3 separate regions of the Homo sapiens genome follow, and regions 2 and 3 are each linked to region 1. The links are contacts of gene promoters, found by promoter capture Hi-C in blood cells and fetal thymus (Javierre and others, 2016). All regions are on one chromosome and are shown on one strand. The core of a region is centred on a gene start or on the middle of the fragment in contact, and the rest is flanking DNA. Distances in the headings are between cores, read along the strand shown. Region 1 holds the start of MED8-AS1 (MED8 antisense RNA 1). Region 2 overlaps ERMAP (erythroblast membrane associated protein (Scianna blood group)). Region 3 holds the start of CCDC24 (coiled-coil domain containing 24).

Region 1 (2,700 bases), core at 130-2,629:
AGTGGAGGAAATGGGCAAAGTAAGAAGAGAGAATTCTGAGATAGGCTTGGGGGTCCTCTGGCTCTTTTTCTGGGCTGTGAGGGAGTCTAGATGTTGCTGAATTCAGAACTCCAAACCCTGGCACTCATACTGGTCTTCCAGCTGCCACGTTCAGTCCTGCATCAGAAGCATACTTCAGGATCCCCATTACTTTTTCTTCAGGTCTCCGGCCGAACAAGCAGACCTTTAACCCTACAGACACTAATGCCTTGGTGGCAGCTGTTGCCTTTGGGAAAGGACTATCTAATTGGAGACCTTCAGGCAGCAGTGGTCCTGGCCAGGCAGGCCAGCCAGGAGCTGGGACGATCCTTGCAGGAACCTCAGGATTACAGCAGGTGCAGATGGCAGGAGCTCCAAGCCAGCAGCAGCCAATGCTCAGTGGGGTACAAATGGCTCAGGCAGGTCAACCAGGTAAGGTGGCAGGGGTTGAAATGAAGCTGACTTTGAGCAGGAGTGGGAGGGAATAAGCTAGATTATCTGGGCCTCCAGCATCTCTAGACCTAGAGGTTTTCTCTATTTCTCCTTTTCACTGTGACCCAGGAAATAATTTTCAGAAGTAAAAAAATCTCATCTGAGACTCTGCAACAGGCACCAGAGAGTGAGGAAGAACTTTGAGTAACAGAAACTGCTCCAATTTCTCATCCGCATCTCACATCTCTGTGTCAACTATCCTTCTATCCCATTTATTCTGGTATTAGATATGTTGTCAGTGTCTCTTGTTAGGTAGAGAAATCAGCAGTCAGATCTTAAGACCATTTGGTAGGTGCATCAGGAATTGACACGCAGGCCAGTTTTCCAGTCCTACATGTATTCTTTTCTCTGTATCCTGCCTCTCTTGCTCTTGGCTTCCTGCCTTCTCTCCTACTCATTTTTAGAACAGTCTAGATGCAGGCAGCTAGAAGAGTTATTTCCTCCAAGCTGTCTAGGAAAAGGGACAATTAAAGAGAGATTCTGCACTTATTATGATATAAAAAAAGAAAAACAATGAGAGAACATAGTACTCTTTTACCTGTGACGTTAAATGGGAGTCACACAGGTTTAGCTATCTGTTCTAGGAGTGGATGAACAGACTATTCTCCCATGTCACTTCTTTCCTCCTGGACACCTTCAGGGAGACAGCTGGGTGAAGAATCATACTTCTGACCTCTGTCAAACAGGGTCAGATGCCGCAGAGGTTCTGAGATGATAAAGGAAGTGACAGAGGGAACCTGAGGTACCACATTTCTGATTTGTCATGAAAGTCTTACCTTGCTTAAGATGACTTTTTTAATGTTCCTTTCAGGGAAAATGCCAAGTGGAATAAAAACCAACATCAAGTCGGCTTCCATGCATCCCTACCAGCGGTGAGTGTGGCTGGCAACCTCGACTCCCTGGTGCTCTTTGCAGAGTTGGGCAGTGAAATTACCTTTTGCTCAAGGCTCACCTAGATGGGTACAATAAAAAGAACATGGGCTTTCAGCAGCAGACAAATCCCACTTCCACCACTGACTAGCTGTGTGACCTTGGACAAGTGACCTAATTTTTCTGAGCCTGTTTCTCATTTGTAAATGGTGATAATACCTACCTCATAGGGTTGTTGTGAGGATTAAAATGAGGAAATGAATGTAAAGCACTTAGTACAGTATATGAAATAATGGGTATTCAATAAATGATAGTTTCTACAGATCCTTCTCCCCACCACCCTCCACAGTCCTTGATCCAGAACTTACCCTAATCTGATACTGCCTCACGTCAATGGTGAGCTGATGGACACAAGATCAAATAAGGCTATGCTTATTTTGTGCTGCCAGAAACTGTAGCAACCTCTGTGTTCTTAGAGGCACACTGTTTTTGCAGGCCCTCCTGCCTGGGTTTCATTCTGGCTATCCCTCTAAGGCGCAAGGTGAAGAAGCTTCTGGGCCAGGAAGGAAAAAAAAATGCCCACCTGCAGCTCTGGTGAAGCTTGGGCCTGCTCTCCTTTCCATCCTCTAAGGAGCCAACTTGGCTTTTACCTGTCAAATAGTCATAAAGTCCCCTATCCTTTACCCCACCTTATACACACGAGGCTTTCTCAGGAAGTGGCTCTGCCAGGCAGGACTATGTGGGAAAGGGTTTTTCCTTAGCACACGAAAAAGCCCCTTCCCCTGGATTCATGTTTCTTATTTTGGAGGGAGAAGGGAATTGCACTTCACACTGCCATCAGGGTTTAGTTGACCTCATAATGGTGCCCACTTTCTCGACTTTGGCCAGGATTTCCTTCAAAGAAAACGACTTTCCTTCATTTCCCTAAGCCTGTGGCCCAAATGGTGGACCAGAATGATGGTGGGAGGGGGCAACCCCCAGTAGCTTTGCCTGCTTTTATAAAGTTGAACAAATTGAATTTAGACATTCAGGCTAACCTGCCTTTCTTAGTACTCCTTTGTTGGCATGGGCAGGGGTTGAGTCAGCAGAAGTGGACCAAAGGATTCCTCTGAATAAAGTTATTTAAATTGATGTTCACTGGCTCAGGGTTGTCTGACAGTAATTTATGAGAGCACTACATAGGGATCAGAGGGGCAGTTTCAAGAGTGCTGCAAGGCAGTTCTAATTTGTTCTCCATAAAAAAGTTTCCGTATCTTTAATTAGCTTTGATCTAAAAATCCTGAAACTTCCCTCCTGCTCATACCTTCCAGCTGCCTTTTT
Region 2 (2,700 bases), core at 9-2,508, 560 kb after region 1:
CTGACCGGGTAGGAGGCACGTTTGCCCCTCCACTCCCTTTTCCTCCAATGCTGCCAATAGTAATTCCCTCTGATGCGTTTTGATCCTATCACATTCTTTCTGAAAACCTTCCCCCTTTACTTTTCAAATCAGAGTAAATTGGAAGATTGGTTTCAAAGACATCCACCAATTAACCACCTTCTTTAACTCACTATCTTTATCTCCAGCTACACCCTGACATGTGCCTTCTGATAAGCAAGCTTGCTGTTTTCCAACATGTGATAAACGCTTCCCGCCTGTCTTGCTTTCATAATATCCTTAGCTGTATGTTCATAATCTCCATAATTATATCATTAACAATACATTACACATTTTTATGTCCTTTGAACTTTATAAAGATGGAGCCCATTGTACATAATTCCCAATTATTCCCTTTTTTTATTCAACATTAGCTTCTGAGTCTAGCAGACATCTGTGGTGGCCCACACCATGTCCCCTCAGCCCACCCAATTTTGGTGTAGCTGAGACTTGCAGGCAAGCTGCTAGCATGTCACCTCATAGGCCATGGCATTTTTCTGCTTGCCTGTCTTGGGGCTTTCTACAAAGCCTTGGAAGGCTGTGCAGCCCAGAAGTTCACCAAAGCTAACACCTCGGAGACATAAACAACAGTGAGAGGAGTCAAGACAAAATGCTCCAGGCTTGCACCTTCAGCTCTGAGCTGTATTCGACATGATTCCTCTGAGTGTTCCCAATGGGAGTGAGCACGGTGGTTCATAGTGGTAAGTAGCTCCGTACTGCACCTTTTATTGACTTTTCTTCCTTTTTTGCTCATTCCCATTTCTGCTTCCTGGGATTACCTCCTAAATACACTCTTGAACTGAAGTACTTGTCTCACACCTCACACTCTGTTCTGGGGGTGTACAAATTAAGACACTGAAATTAATCCAGGTTGTTTCACAGAGCACTAGGATATTCATTCACTGCTATATAGTAGACCATTATATAAATCTACCAACAGTTTCTCTCGTCCCTTAATGATAGAAATGTGGGTTGTTTCTGGGCTTTAGCTTTTATAAATAATACTGTCCTGAACATTCTTTTTTTTTTTTTGAGACAGAGTCTCGCTCCGTCGCCCAGGCTGGAGTGCAGTGGTACGATCTCGGCTCACTGCAAGCTCCGCCTCCTGGGCTCATGCCATTCTCCTGCCTCAGCCTCCGGAGTAGCTGGGACTACAGACGCCCGCCACCACGCCCAGCTATTTTTTTTTTTGTATTTTTAGTAGAGACGGGGTTTCACCGTGTTAGCCAGGATGGTCTTGATCTCCTGACCTTGTGATCCGCCCGCCTCGGCCTCCCAAAGTGCTGGGATTACAGGCGTGAGCCACCGCGCCCGGCCTCGTGCCCTGAACATTCTTGATAGGTATTTCCTGCTCACATGTGCAAGAATTTCTCTAGAGCACCAGTTCTTAATGTGTGGTCCACAAACACTTGAAGTCCCTGAGGCCCTATCATCCAGGTTAAAACTACATTCATCATAATAAAGACGTTATTTGCCTTTTTCACGGTATTGACATTTTCAAGGACACTGCAAAAGCAATAGTGGGTAAAACAGCTAGCACAAATCAGGAAGTGGCACCAAACTGTAGTAGAAGTTACAAATTTTATTAAATTTCAACTCTTAGATACACATCTTTTTAATAGTTTGTGTGACAAAATGGGAAGGATGCATAAACAGTTACGCTGCATATCAAAGTATGATGACTTTATCGAGGAAAAAACCTTAAGTGATTGAGTTGTGAGCTGAAGTAATCGCTTGACTCATGGAGCACCATTCTTACCTGAAAGTACAGCTGAAAGACAAAGTATAATTATTCAGACTTGGGTATTTGGCAGGCATTTTCTCCAAAATGAATAAAGTGCACCTGTCACTTCAGGAAAAGCAACTGACAGTGTTTGTTGTCAATGAGAACATTCAATCTTTTGAGCAAAAATTAGAATTTTGGAAAATTTTTATCTGCTGCTTGATACCCTCACAATAGCAAAAGACTTTTCTGATGAGATTGGCATTGATATTAATAAATGTGATTTTTTGATGTTGTATAATGAAATGTGTCAACATTTAGAAGATCTGTAAAACTCAGTGACTCAGCAATTTCCAAATGACCAATGGGTGTGTTGACAAAACCCTGCATGGGTAAAACATTCATTTAAAATGCAAGAAAAAACTGTGAGTGTTGCTGTAATAGAGTATAAAAAGGTCATTGCTATGGTTTCAGATTTCATGTCACAACTAAGCTTTAAAAAACTACCACTTGCTGAGTTTTGGTGTCTTATCAAAGAATATCCACGATTATCTGAAAAAGCTACTGAAATGCTCCTTTTCCAATTGCATACACTTCAACCACAAAACATACTGCAGCAGATTGAAAGATATAGCTGGCTTGAGAATACAGCTGTCTTCTATTAAGCCAGACATCTAAAATATTTATAGCCATTAAAAAGAATAAAATCCCATCATTCAAAGTGACATGGATGGAACTAGAAAACATTACGTTATATGAAATAAGTCAGGCACAGAAAGTTAAACACCACATGTTCTCACTCATAGTTAGATGTTAAAAAAAAAGAAAAAGTTAATCTCATAGAAGTGAAAAGCAGAACAGAGGTTACTAGAGGCTGGAGAGGGAAGGGGAGGATAGGGAGAGATTTGTTCAATAACACA
Region 3 (2,700 bases), core at 122-2,621, 610 kb before region 1:
GGCCAGAGGAACAACCGCCTGCTGGACATGGCTTCCTTTCTTCCCTCTTCCTACAAAGCTCTTCTCTTTCATCTCCCTGAAAACTGCTCCTCATACTACAACACGCAGATCAAACCACTTTCTCCAGGAAGCTTTGCCTGTCCCCAGGCTAGGCAGGTGTTTCCTCTGGGTTTCAGTAGCCCTCATGGGCTGATAATCTCTATCACAAGTGGCGGTGGAAGTGCCCAGCCCGTGACTGGAATCTCCTGCATGGAGCCAGGTGCAACCCACCAGTGGGCTAGGGCCCTCTGCCAAGCAGGGACAGATCCCTCTCTCCTACCATCACCTTACCTGGGCCCACCACCTCTCATCTGGAATATCTCCTGTTCTGGCAAATCACACCTGGGCTCCTCCAAGGCAAAGTGCAGGACCCTGGGGCTATACTGGACCCAAGCTTGGGCCTGGTCCCTGCAGAAGGTGCACAGGAAGGAAGCTGAGAGGCTCCTTTCTGGAAACCACAGAAAAGGCAACCCTGGCTCCTTGTTAGGGGCAGCGCTAGCCCACCTGGTATCTAGGGAAAGGGCCCAGGCCTGAGGCTCCCACCTGCCCTCACAGATGGCTTTGTGGCGGAGACCCTGGAGCAACTGCCGGAGCTCCTGGCGCAAGAGGTCCTTTAGGAGAGGCGGTGGTGCCAGAAGAGAAGAGGGGTCAGAGATGGGGCGGGAGCTGGGGGCTTGAGAGGATCGAGCCTCTTGGAGCAGTGCCCGTAACATCGCCACCTGCAAGGAGAGCTGGGATACCTTGCGACTGGGGAGGGGAGTGTCCGGAATGGTGGGGGCTGGGGGAGTGAGGGAGAGGGCGGAGTCAAAGGGGAGACCAGGATAGGATCTCGGGAGTTACCCGGCAGGGCCAGGGACCCGCAGAGGTGGGAAATCACCCGAGTCGTGGGGCAGGCCAGGGGCGTGGCCCACCTTCCCTCTCCCCACCTCCGCCCGCAGCTCCAGGCTCAGGTCCACCGCCGCCTCCCCCAGAATCCTCTTCACTTCGCGTCGCTCCCGGAGCGGAACGTGCTCCTCCACCAGCTCCCACAGCGAGGGGGAGTGCCGGAGCATGACCCACCGACGCCGCCGTCCCCGGCTCGGACCTACGGGCCGCAGGTCAGAGTGCGGGAGGTACCGCGGGCCCGCCGGCAACGCTCACCAAACCCCGCCCCTCTATGGGCCCCGCCCTCTCCCAAGCCCCACCCGTGCTCTGCCGCTGGTCCCCTCGGCTGGGATTGCCCGTTCCGGAACTGCCAGTCCTTGGCGCTCTCTTCTGCCCGGCTTTTGGCCGACTCGGATGCCGGGGGCCCAGAAACCAGGCAGTGGGAACCAGGGCCCTAGCCCCACCTCTTCCGCGTGGCCATCACCCGGGAAACCACGCCGCGACTCTAGGGCCCCGCCCCCTCCCGTGTTTGGTCCGGCGGGCGGCGCGTGCCGGCTGGGAGTTCAGACTCACCTCGGCGCTCCACCGAGCCCTGACCCAAGCACTTTGGGCTCGGCCCTGGGCACCTTTAGGCCTCAGGGAACGTGTTAAGACCTGAGAAATCTGGGTCCACGGGTTTATTACTTCGTCGCCTCCACTGTCCCGGAAGCAGTGCAAGGACAAACTTCCCCTTAAGGCCAGTGAAAGCCTAGGGAGTGGCAGCGCTTGGAGAACCAGGATGGCCCGGGTCAGGTTTACTTGTTGGGCCAGGTTCCCCAAGTGCCCTTCCACCACAACACACTCAGGGTAACCACGTTCAGGGACCCGACCCCCACCCCCAAACAGACAAGGGAGCTGCTCCATTCACGTTTTTTACTAAAGCACCCACACAAGTTTCTGTGCAATGTACAAACACAAGCCGGCCCTGGGGCTCCTGCCTCCTCTCTCAGACAGGGAGGCGGGAACCAGACTTACTGATCCAAGCCCCACCTGCCTCCCATGCAAAGGCCAACCCCAAGATCCCAGGCAGCGACACAGCATCCCCTCTGGTCCCCTCCTGGGGCTGCTCCTCAGCAGGGGGCGCACCAAAGCTTGCCCCCTACAATGTTGAATGAAAAAGGTTTCCCCTCCCCTGGGAGCAAGGGGGTTCCCAAGAGCTGAGAATTCCCCCTGGAAGAGACACTGCCCCCTAGACATACCTCCCACCCTTCCAGGCCCTAGGGGACTCAAGGGGGGGAAACTGAGGCACAGAGAGGTGGAGTGACCTAGCCCAGGCCACTCTGCGAGGCAGTGCAGGGGCTGGCCCGACCCTGACAGTGACTGGGGCTGGGCTAGGGGGAGGGGGTCGGGAAGGAGGGTTGACTCCAAAGAGGGCCACACTTGAAGAGCCTGCCCAGGCAGGAGGCCCCCCAAAGTGGGTTCTGAAACTTCCAGGTGTAGCTAGGGGGCCTAGTGAAGACCCTTGGAAAACAGAGCCCAGTCTCAGTCCTGGAGGTCCTCCACAGAGCAGCTGCCAGCCAGGCTGTGGTCAGTCCTCTGGCAGGCAATCTTCGGCACCGAGAGCCTCTGTCCATTAGTGTCAGCCCCGAGGGGGCCACGACGGAGGCCGCCCAATGTCCACTGTGATATTGGTGAAGAGTGGTTGCCGAGACACCTCCAAGACCTGGTACCGCACTGACCCAATGCCGTCCCGCTTCATGGTCAGCTTCGTGTTTTGAATCTTGGTAAACCTAGATAGGATGGAAATGGTCCACATCA

Evidence for each region. Contacts are between HindIII fragments. The CHiCAGO score rates a contact against its expected background, and 5 or more counts as called.
Region 2: a contact is called between a fragment that was not itself captured here and the fragment with the promoter of MED8-AS1 in region 1, in 1 of 17 cell types (erythroblasts). The highest score is 6.9, in erythroblasts.
Region 3: the fragment with the promoter of CCDC24 here is called in contact with the fragment with the promoter of MED8-AS1 in region 1 in 1 of 17 cell types (total B cells); the score reaches 5.1 in total B cells.

The regions. Positions count from the first base shown.
Region 1 is chr1:43,383,728-43,386,427 of GRCh38, reverse strand. MED8-AS1 (MED8 antisense RNA 1) reads right to left here and starts at 1,379. Exons shown (of 2, transcript XR_001738027.1): 1 at 1,287-1,379; 2 at 702-1,144. It overlaps MED8 (mediator complex subunit 8), which reads left to right. Exons shown (of 7, transcript NM_201542.5): 6 at 202-450; 7 at 1,322-2,511. The coding sequence ends at 1,386. The HindIII fragment of the contact is 5,225 bases long and covers 1-1,932 here.
Region 2 is chr1:42,822,737-42,825,436 of GRCh38, reverse strand. All of the region lies in intron 1 of ERMAP (erythroblast membrane associated protein (Scianna blood group)), which reads right to left. Among named protein-coding and RNA genes, the nearest start is that of SVBP, 6.7 kb to the right of the region's middle. The HindIII fragment of the contact is 2,034 bases long and covers 242-2,275 here.
Region 3 is chr1:43,990,270-43,992,969 of GRCh38, reverse strand. CCDC24 (coiled-coil domain containing 24) reads right to left here and starts at 1,371. Exons shown (of 9, transcript NM_152499.4): 1 at 1,224-1,371; 2 at 966-1,123; 3 at 583-758; 4 at 331-447. The coding sequence starts at 1,091. It overlaps B4GALT2 (beta-1,4-galactosyltransferase 2), which reads right to left. Exons shown (of 7, transcript NM_003780.5): 7 at 1,802-2,672. The coding sequence ends at 2,522. RefSeq lists silencers at 918-967, 1,108-1,217. The HindIII fragment of the contact is 1,600 bases long and covers 436-2,035 here.